2 separate regions of the Homo sapiens genome follow, and region 2 is linked to region 1. The links are contacts of gene promoters, found by promoter capture Hi-C in human tissues and cell types (Jung and others, 2019). All regions are on one chromosome and are shown on one strand. The core of a region is centred on a gene start or on the middle of the fragment in contact, and the rest is flanking DNA. Distances in the headings are between cores, read along the strand shown.

Evidence for each region. The method cuts DNA at HindIII sites, captures the fragments that hold promoters and counts their contacts. A contact is called where the count stands out against the background at its distance.
Region 2: a fragment that was not itself captured here is called in contact with the fragment with the promoter of ARHGEF17 in region 1 in 1 of the 25 tissues and cell types used here (spleen).

What each region holds. Positions count from the first base shown.
Region 1 is chr11:73,305,331-73,309,914 of GRCh38, reverse strand. ARHGEF17 (Rho guanine nucleotide exchange factor 17) reads right to left here and starts at 1,639. Exons shown (of 21, transcript NM_014786.4): 1 at 1-1,639. The coding sequence starts at 1,276. It overlaps ARHGEF17-AS1 (ARHGEF17 antisense RNA 1), which reads left to right and starts at 554. Exons shown (of 3, transcript NR_147696.1): 1 at 554-1,243; 2 at 1,351-2,033; 3 at 2,359-2,404. RefSeq lists enhancers at 1-644, 650-1,527 and silencers at 948-1,167, 1,398-1,727, 2,128-2,267. The HindIII fragment of the contact is 12,473 bases long and covers 1-4,584 here.
Region 2 is chr11:73,660,153-73,665,130 of GRCh38, reverse strand. It overlaps PLEKHB1 (pleckstrin homology domain containing B1), which reads right to left. Exons shown (of 8, transcript NM_021200.3): 7 at 4,279-4,378; 8 at 2,312-3,665. The coding sequence ends at 3,529. Among named protein-coding and RNA genes, the nearest start is that of PLEKHB1, 16 kb to the right of the region's middle. RefSeq lists enhancers at 3,163-4,005, 4,006-4,850 and a silencer at 3,929-4,100. The HindIII fragment of the contact is 5,172 bases long and covers 748-4,978 here.

The DNA of each region.
Region 1 (4,584 bases), core at 390-2,889:
CTTCCCCAGCTCCAAAGCTAGGGGAGCGGTACACGCCCCAGCCCCCAGAACCCCTACTAGACCATAGGTCGTCGTCCTTGAGGGTCTCCGTGCTGGAATAACGGCTGCTACCGCGGGAGCCTGCGGGGCTGGCCAGGTACGAGGGAAAGCTCACCTTGGCCACACGGAAAGCTCCTCCCACAGAGTCAGACATAGGCCGAAGTCCCTCCTGGGGACCTGGGACGCAGGGCGGAGAGCCACTACCCCACTCCCGGAGTCCTTCTTCTCTAGGGGCTCTTGGAGATGTTGGGGGCTCAGGGCTCCCAGAAACCCCTGCTGAGTTCATGCTGCTTAGATTTAACCCATCACTGTCAGGCCTGCAGTCCTGATCCAATAGGGAGCTTCCAGGCCTGAGCCCGGGCCTCCCTCCCCAGCGGTGGCCGCCCTCACCGTCTCGGTCGTCGTCACTGCCCGAGGAGTGGCCGCCGTGGTAGGCCGGACTCTGGGCTCCAGGCAGCTGCGGCGGGCCCTCCTCTTCCTCCTCGCTGGAGCTGGCAGCACGACTGCGGCTGACAGGATAGGAGGCGGCGATGGAGGAGGAGGAGCAGGAGGCCCGGGCCCCGGCCTGCGGTTGGGAGAAGATATGCCAAGAATGTAAACCATCCGCTGGACGCTGCGCCCGCTCCTGTTGCTGCTGCGGCCGGCGCAGCCTCCCTTCGGTCTCCGGCCCGGTCAGGGGCCGCGCCGAACGCAGACCCGCCAGGGGGAAGCATGTCCGAGGGGGTGGCGTCGGTGGCTGCCGCGACTCCCGAGCCGGAGGCTCCCACGCGGCACCGTCGGGGCTGGGCGTTCCTGGGGATTCAGAGTCGGCGCTGGGCCTCCTGGAGCCAGGACCGCCGAAGAGCTTGCGCATCTCGGTGACGCTGGGCCAGGCTCCTCGCGCTGGGCCCTCGGCCGCTTCTTCCGCGGCCGCGGGTAAGACGCCTCCGTCTCGGGTCCCAGCGGAGCCGTCGTCCAGACGCGGCGCGTCGAAGCGCCGGGAGAGCTGGCGAACCGACGGCGAGAGGCTGCGGAGCGGGCGCGGCTGCGCGGGGGCGGCCAGGGGCCCAGACGCCAGCTTGGACACGCGCCGAGAGGGCTGGCCCCGGGCAGCCGTGGTCGGCCGGCACGAGGCGCGTCGCCTCAAGCCGGGGGTGTCCGTGTCCTCCTCCCTCAGCCCGGGGCCGCCGCTCCAGCGCTCCAGCAGCTTGAACGAGACGCTGCGGTAAAGCTGGGGCCGGGGTGCCCCGTCCGCCATAGTGGCGTAACTCACTCCGGGGGGGCTGGCCTCGGGCAGCCGCGGCCAACCCCCCCTGCGCCCCCACTCCCTAGGAGCGCAGCGGCCCACGCCGAAAGCAGCGCACGGGAGTGTGGGAAGAGGACGCAGAGACCGGAGCAGAGGTTTCTCTGCCGCGGCTCAAGTTTCTGTGGCCACCGGCCGCAACGTCTCCATCCCGGGCGGCCCCTCCCGCCTCAGCGCCGACCCCCAGGCCCAGCCCCCGCCGCGGCTGGAGCGACCAGGGGCACCGCGGCACCGCCTGGGCGGGATCCCAGCGCTTGGTTCCTCGACTCTGCGTCCGCCTGCCCAACGCCCTTGGCTGCTCGCTCCTGGCACCCTTTTGTTGCAAATAAACTTTGCGGCAGAGGCAAGGGGGCGGGGGGCGGGGCCTCGCGCCCAAAAGAGGGGGTGGGCTCCGGGCGTGCGCGAGCCTGGGAACCGCGTGGTGGGAGGGAATCAGGGAGGAGCCGAAGAAGAAAAAGCCTGCTGGAGGACTTGCAGACTGAGGCGACCCTCTGGCCCTCCAGAGAGGTCCCTCGGGAGCCCAGCAGGCCGAGCTGCCCCCAGGGAGTCGCTGAGACACACACAACCGCTGAGCGTGCTCAGCTCCGCAGACTCGCAGCCAGGGCGCCGCGTCCACCGCGGGCCACCAGCCTCCGCGCGGAAACACCTCCTGCCCAGGGGCTCCAACATGGCAACCTCGGACTCACAAACTCTCGTACACACTGACACTCAGGTGCACGCAGACGCACACTCTCTGGGCCGGGAAAGGGGTGGGACTCGGCGCCAGGGAGAGCCCGGGGAGCCGCGGGCTAACTGAAGGGTCCGTCGCGCCCTACTCCCCGCCCAGGCCACGCCTCCTCCCCTTCCCTCCCCCTCCCCGCCCGCCCTCTGCGGCGAATTTAGCTGTAGCCACGCCCTTGTCCCCCCATCTCGCTCCCAAGCGCCCCGCCCATCCCACCTCCCAGCCGCCTGTCCGGCTCCGACCGGCCCCCAACCCGCCCAGCGTTGCTCCAGAAGTCCCACCCTTCACGACCGCGCCCCCACCCCTACTTTTCCAGCTGCCACGCCTTCCACCTGCCCCTGCAGTCTGGCGGCTCTTCTCCTGGACTCTCCGCCTGGATCCCCGAGCCTTTTCTTCTTGCTCTGGAGTACGCGGCTCTTGCGCCCCCTCGCGGCGTGATTTTCCCAACGCACGGAGTCCTGGACGGATAAAGCAGCACCCATCCCCCAAAAACGGAGAGTTGTGAAAACTTCCTTTCAGTCGTTACCTAATCCCCTTAGTCTTTTTCAGACCTTCGCAAAGCGCACTGCCCCTTCTTAGGCCTTATACACAAAAGGAGCTTCGACGGGAACGCCCTCGACTTCCCACTGCCAAACCTATACTCTTACCCGCAGCTGCTTCACCTTCTTGGCAGGAAAAGTGTCGGTTGTTTCTCTGGCTTCACGCTGATCCCTCGCTTGAGCTCCCCTCCCGCCCCTGCCTCCGTCTGAGTCTCACATTGTTCTCGGTATTGGGGCATCATCCCCTTCCGCATTCCCACCTGCCTCTAGATCCCATTCATCCTCCCGGCCCAACTAACGAATGAACGAACGAATGAAAATGTATGGAGTACCTATAATGTATGGGCAATATTATTTAACTTATTTTTTAAAATCCACAAACCACCCTTGGGGACAAATATTATTACCCCTTCTCTGTGGACCGTGAAGGAGAAGTAACTTTGACCACTATGCAAGTCAGGAAATAGCAGCTCCTGCTAAAATTCAGATTTCAGGGGCTTCAAACACCATGCTCCTCCAGCCAGCTCTGAGATGCACCCCCAAATCCTGATGAAGAAGGAGGTTCTCGTTCCTTTGAGCCCCCAGTCTCCTCCTTCTCCTCCTTGGGCCTGAGCTCACTCTCCTCAGGAACAGAGGATAACCTGGTCTGACCCATGCCCCTCCAGCGCTGCCCAGCCTTCTTCAGGCCTGGTCAAACTGCCCTGGCCCCTCCAACCCCCAGTAGCAAGGCCTCGGGGACACATAGTTAGGTCAGCAGTCTGTGCATTACCCAGCCAACCCCACTGCCACCAGGTCCAGCCAAGGAGATGTAGCTGGGCCAGACTAGGCTAGGAGACGGGGTTCAGAGGAGAGGGGCAGGCAGGAGGATAGGAAAGGATGGTAGACACCCAGGGATTGCCTGACTACCGAATGAGAGAGAGAGGACTCAGCCGGGACTCCAGAACCTGCTTGCTACTCATATACCCCACAGGATGAGGAGGTCACTCTCCACTCTCTGGGCAGCCTCTTGAGTTGTGGAATATCTCTGTAGCAAGAAAGTGCTTCCTCTCTGTGTTGAGACCAGCATCCAGGGAGTCCCTCACCTCAACCTCATCTCAGCTCTGCCTCAAGGGGGCCAAGGAGTAAATCTCTCCCTTTTCTCTAGGAAATTGATAAAAGAGAGCCCTGCTGGCCTGTGCCTCTCTGTTCGGCCTTACTCTGTGACCTTGGGTAAATCCCTGCACTTGCTGGTGTCTGAAAAGTGAGGAGTGGGGTGTCTGAAAAGTGAGGAGTGGTTCAGGTTCCCCAAGAGTGCCCTCTCTGGCTCTGGCATTTGATGTCAGACTCTCACCTCCTTTAGTATTTTCTTTCTGCTCTTTGGGGCAAGTTTTGGTGTGTGCTGTGGGGTGAGTTGTGGAGGGGTGAGTTGGGGAGGGGTGAGTTGTGGAGGGGTGAGTTGTGGAGGGGTGGGTTGTGGAGGGGTGGGGGACAGGACTCTCATCCCAGGAGTCACTCTCTCCCCCCATAATGATGACTCTTACTATCTGAAATTTGTACTTTTCCACCTCCCTGTCAGTTCTGGGACAGAAACCCTTATCCCATATCACAGATGGGCAAGTGGATAGAGAGGAGTGGAGGTTCAGGTCATGGGCTCCCAGAGTCCTGTGGCTTGGCCTTGAGGTGAGCTGGCTGGGGCCTTTGGCTCAGGAATCCCCTTGGTGGGGAGGGGGGTGTTTAAGGATCTAGACTGGGTCTCTGTCCAAAGGGAAGCTCACCCAATCTGAGAGTGGCTTGATTGCTTCCAGTGCTTCAGGAACCCTCCCACCCCCAGCTCCTTATGATCCAGTATAAGACAAAGTTATCTTCCATGAACAGAAGAGATCTGGAATTTTAATGGTGCTTGGTAATTATGTACAGCAATTTTTAGCCCCAAGAAGACTTATTTGATAGGGGGCTGGGAGCACTGGGCACCAGAGTGGAGAGAAACCCTACGCTGGGGTTTTGAAGCCAGGCTCACCTTCCGC
Region 2 (4,978 bases), core at 2,084-4,583, 350 kb before region 1:
TAATGAGCCACACAGGATTTATAGTGCAGAAGCAGTGTGGTGTGGTAGACAAGGTCAAGTGACCTGCATTTGAATCCAGATTCTGACACAGCATGCATGACTTGGACAATCTACTTTCCTTCTCTGCATCTGTTTCTTTGTAGGTAAAATAAGAATAGTAACACCAGGCCCATGGGGTTGTTGCAAAGACCTATGAGATAAAGCAGGGGAAGCTTTGGGCAATGAATGGCAATGTCCCCAGCTCTGTCTGATCTCAAATGCCCTGCCCAGCCAGCTCCCTGATCCTTGTTTAACCCACATTCTTGGGAAAGGACTCTAGATAGCTTGGGCTCTTCCTACATATTGATCTCTAAAAGTCCTGAGACTGTGCCGGAGAGTAAGAGGAAAGGTCATTCCCAGAGCCAAACTCAGAGATGTCCCTGCAGGAGCATGCAGGACACCCTCTAATGAGATGGCGTAATGGGGATGCCACTAAAGGACTGACAGGGTAACTGGGTCCATCTGGGAGAAAATTAAGGCTGAGGCTGGGCTGAAGGTAGTGAGTTATCTCAATTGACTGTTCATAGTCAGTTACAGATCAAACTCTGTTCTCTCTCCCCACTTCTCACTGCTGCAAAGGAAGGGAAGGAAAGGAAAGGGAAGGGGAAGGGGAGGGGGAGGGGGGAGTGGGGGAGGGGAAGGGAAGGAAATGGAAGGGGAAGGGAGGGGGAGGGGGGGAGGGGAAGGGAAGGGAAGGGAGGGGGAAGGGAGGGGAAGGGAGGGGAGGGGAGGAGGAAAGACAAAAATAGAAAAAATTAAGGCTGTGAGGAGGAGAAAGGAGGGGAGCAAAACAAAAGAAAAAATTAAGGCTGAAGTTCCAAAGCATGGACTGGGTCTGATGCACTGCTGGGTCCCCTGAACACAGTACAGGCCTTAGGATACCCAGGGTATGTAACCTCTGACTGCACAAATGCTAACAGACCTTGGTTTTCTCAAGAGGCTCCTCTTGCATCCATGCTTGTCCTTAAGCCGGGGCCACATACTGGACTATGCCCTGTGTTCAGTAGCCTGGCCCAAGAGGTTCCTTATAGTTTGACCTCATCCACCACCTCTCACCATGCGACCTGCTATAGCATGAGACTGGTTCCTGAACTTCAGGGTGCTCTCAAGCCTCTAATGCCTTTGCTCATACCATTTCTTCCATCTGTTCTCTGTGTGGAAAGCTCTCCCAACTTTTTCAGATTGGCAAACTCCTACTCATTTTTCAAGGTTCAAAATAAATTTCCACTTCCTGTCCCAAAGCTTTCCCTAGTTCCCTTGGCAGAGTTGCATGCCTCCTCTTCAGAGCTCCAACTGCACCACGTTCCTCTGTAACTTCATTCAATCATTGCTGTTTTTATACATGTCTCACCTCTAAGTTGGTGTCTCTGGAACTGTGGCTGAGGTGAATACCTGATATTTTTGCCAACCAGCTTTCATCTATTCATCCTACTTCTGGGAACAGTGCCCTGAATTTCCTCTGGGACACCATCCCACCCCTGCTGTAAGCCCTGTTATTTTAGACCATCCGTTTCCAGACCACTGGGGTTGATGCAGGGATGGCCACAGGACCCAATTTAGACTGATGTCTACCAGGCCCAGGACTTTCAGTCATACTGTTAGAGGAAGAGAAATTCTCTTGGTTGGACTTGAACTCAGGAGGGCATTAGCCTGGAGCTGCTGAACATCACTGCAGCTTCCAAATGAGCCAGCCCTGCAGGTGTAAAGATGGAAACAAAGCAAAGTCTAAGTGACACTCTTTGAGCCCCTGGATCACACAGCTCTTGGACTTCTCAGTTATGTGGCTTAACCTTTTCCCTTTGGCTTAAATCAGTTTGAACAGGGAGTTTCTATCTGACAGCCCCAAGAAGCCTGATGCAGGATGATGGTGTTTCCTTTCCTGACCACCTGGTTTTCTATGAGAACAATTCATTGATTCAACTCTAGAAGGATGGGAACCTACTGGAAAAGACTCCAACATGAACAGGATTCTCAGAAAGCAGGCAGGACCTGGCTTGGATCATCCATCAGCTCAGACAACAGAGACTCCAAGGCAGTCCCTCCTCTTGAGCCCTCAGGAATGGTCAACTTCAACCAGCTACCTTAAGTGTAGGGAAAACAAAATCCAGAAAGGTTAAGTGACTTGCCCCAAATGACTCAGCTAATATGCTGTCACCAGTTCCAACTGATCTCAGAATCCACACTCTTTTTCACTAGACCAGTGAAGGCACTAGTAGCTGCTGGATCATGGAGAGGGAAACAGGGCCTTCTGGGGGAACAAAGCAAGCCACAGTTACTGCTAGAGCCAACCAAATCTTTATTAGTCTCGGCAGCAGAACTAATGGAGCCCCCATTTACAGGGGAGCTTTAGTGGGCTAGTCTGGCTACCAGGCAGGGATGTTAGCATTTCTATTGGTGATTGGGATAGAAAGGGGGAAGAGACTGGAAGGGAACCAAAGGGGGAGACTGGTGGACCACCTGAGGGCAGGCACAGATGGGGCTTCCTGGGCTGGTGTAGAGGTGGATCAGGCCCCAGAGGAGAACACTGCCATCTTATTCAGAATGAAGGATGAGACAAAGCCTGAGAGGGTGACAGTCACAGCTACAAAGAGAGGGCCGAGCTCCTGGTGTGAGAGGCATTTCTGGACGGAGGCAGCTTTCTAGGGCTGGAAGTCTCAAATAGAACTCACCTGTTCCCCAACCAGGGGTCCCCAGGTTCAGCTCAATTGTTATCATGGGTACCAGCCAGGAAGCTGTTTGTGGGAAGGATGGGACTTGACTCAGGAGTGTTTTAGGTATGGACATGTGTCAGTATTCACAAAACAGGCAATATATTCATTATAGATGCAATCATGAAACTTCCCTCCAGAGAAGGCTCACATCTCCCCTTTCACCTAGGAAGCTCCTTAGCTTGAAGGCCCACCACGGTCTGATCCCAGCCTCCACCCCAGCCCAAATGAACTCCCATTTAATTCCTTGGACATGCCATGACGTTCACGGCTCTGCATACTTGCCAATAACTGTTCTTCCAGCCTACCTGTCTTGCTCCCTGCCCCACCTGTCCTTGTCAAAGGACTGATAACTCTTCAGCTTTGTCAAGTCCTTGTTTACTCCTGTTCTCCCCACCAGGACTCGAGCTCCCTAAGGAGAGAGCAGAGAGCCCGATTCATGTTGTGTCTACAGCGCCTGGGGAACTCGAAGCCAAATGAAGTCGTATTTGCTGTGCCCTGTTGTGTTTAGAGGAAATGTATCCATAAATGTCTATAACAGATTTTGGGGGTGTCTAGTGGTAGATGTGAAGACTTCAAGCGATGTTTGTACCTGTGATGATAGCTTCTTCCCATGTGGGGATTAAGGGTAGGGAGTGGGGGGAATGGTCCAAACCCGGAAGGAGCTAATGGAGAGGATAGGGCCAAAGTGGGACAGGGCTTGGATGGTAGAGGATGGGGTCCAGGAGGAAGAGGAGTCTAGCAATCCAAGCGCAGGGGTCAGTGCTCCGAGTCCCAGGGCTCAGAACCAGCAGGGCGACCACATGAGCGAGCCCAGCGCCGCCCCAGTGGCGGCTCCCGCAAGCATGCCCATGGCCAGAGGGGCGCCGGCGCTGTAGCAGGGATCCTCCCGCACTATCACGTGCGTCACGCCAGGGCCTGCAGAGGGAGACAGCCCATGAGGATCAGCGACTTAGGAGGGAGTAGAGTGATCTTCGTACCCTTCCTGCATCACTCCAGCCCAACCCAGTGTAAGGCGCCGAACCCACTCTCCTGCTCCCCAGTCAAAGAACAGATCTAGACGCGGGAAGAGCTCCACCCTACGGCTCCCAGGCCTTGGATCGGCTACGGATGTCCCGGAACCTACGGGTCCGCTACGGCAGGCTAGGGCGGAGCAGCGAGGAAACCCTGAGATCGCTAAGCACAACCACCAGGCGCCTAACGATGGGCATTCCCAACCGCCAGGCCCCAGAGCGGGGAGGAGGCAGCATTCCCGCAGTAGCCACCAGGGGCCGCTACCGGCTCAGGAATGGGTATTGCCGACCGCAGGGCTGAGGAGCCATCCCAGAAGGGTGAGGTCAGCTCGAGACGAACGCTGGTTCCAGAGCTCTCCCAGTCTCAGGATGGAGAGGGGCTTGCGGAGAGTTCTGCCTGGGAAAATCCGTGCACGCTAAAAGGATGAAGCCTGGTCCGGACTTACGGACCGTGGGCTGGGCCTGGCGCTGAATCGGTGCTGGATCGAGGCAAGCCCCGGGGCACGCTGGAGACTTACCTGCGTAGGGCGGTCCGTAGTAGCTGCGGACATACGTGGCCTCGTGTGCATTGGGGGGCACCACCTCGTAGTAGTCTTGGTACGGGCTGTAGACGCGCACCTGGGGAATCCAACCATGTCAGGTGCCCAGGAACTCCCTGGCCCGGATTTGGTCCCCTACCCCCACGCCTGGCACAGGCCTCTCTGGGATCCATGGAGCCACCTCCCCAAGTTTAGAAATGGGCCTCCAGCCACTAGCAAGCTCTTGGAGAAAGGCCCTGCCCTCCCCACAAGGTCCACGGTCCTCTAAAACTTCTGCCCTACATCCAGCTCCCAGTGACACCCATTCTCCAACTCTGGCCTCCCACCTAGCTCAAAAAATTCTCTATGGCTCCCAATTTCTCCTTATAGGTAGTCTAATATTTGCTAGCAGCTCTACAATAATGCCACTTGAAAGACCCAGCTCTACTAGTCACAAGGAGGGGAACATGGCCAAGCCCCAGGCCCAGGAAATAAACAGGGGTTGGGGAGGAAGGAAGGGAAAGGAAGGATAGGGATGAGAAGTAACTAAAATACAGTTATGCGTCTTTTAAACAACAGGGATACAGTCTGAGAAATGCGTCCTTAGGCAATTTTAGTTATGTGAATATCATAGAGTGTACTTACAAACAAACCTAGGTGGCACACACCTAGAGTATATGGTATATCCTATTGCTCCAAG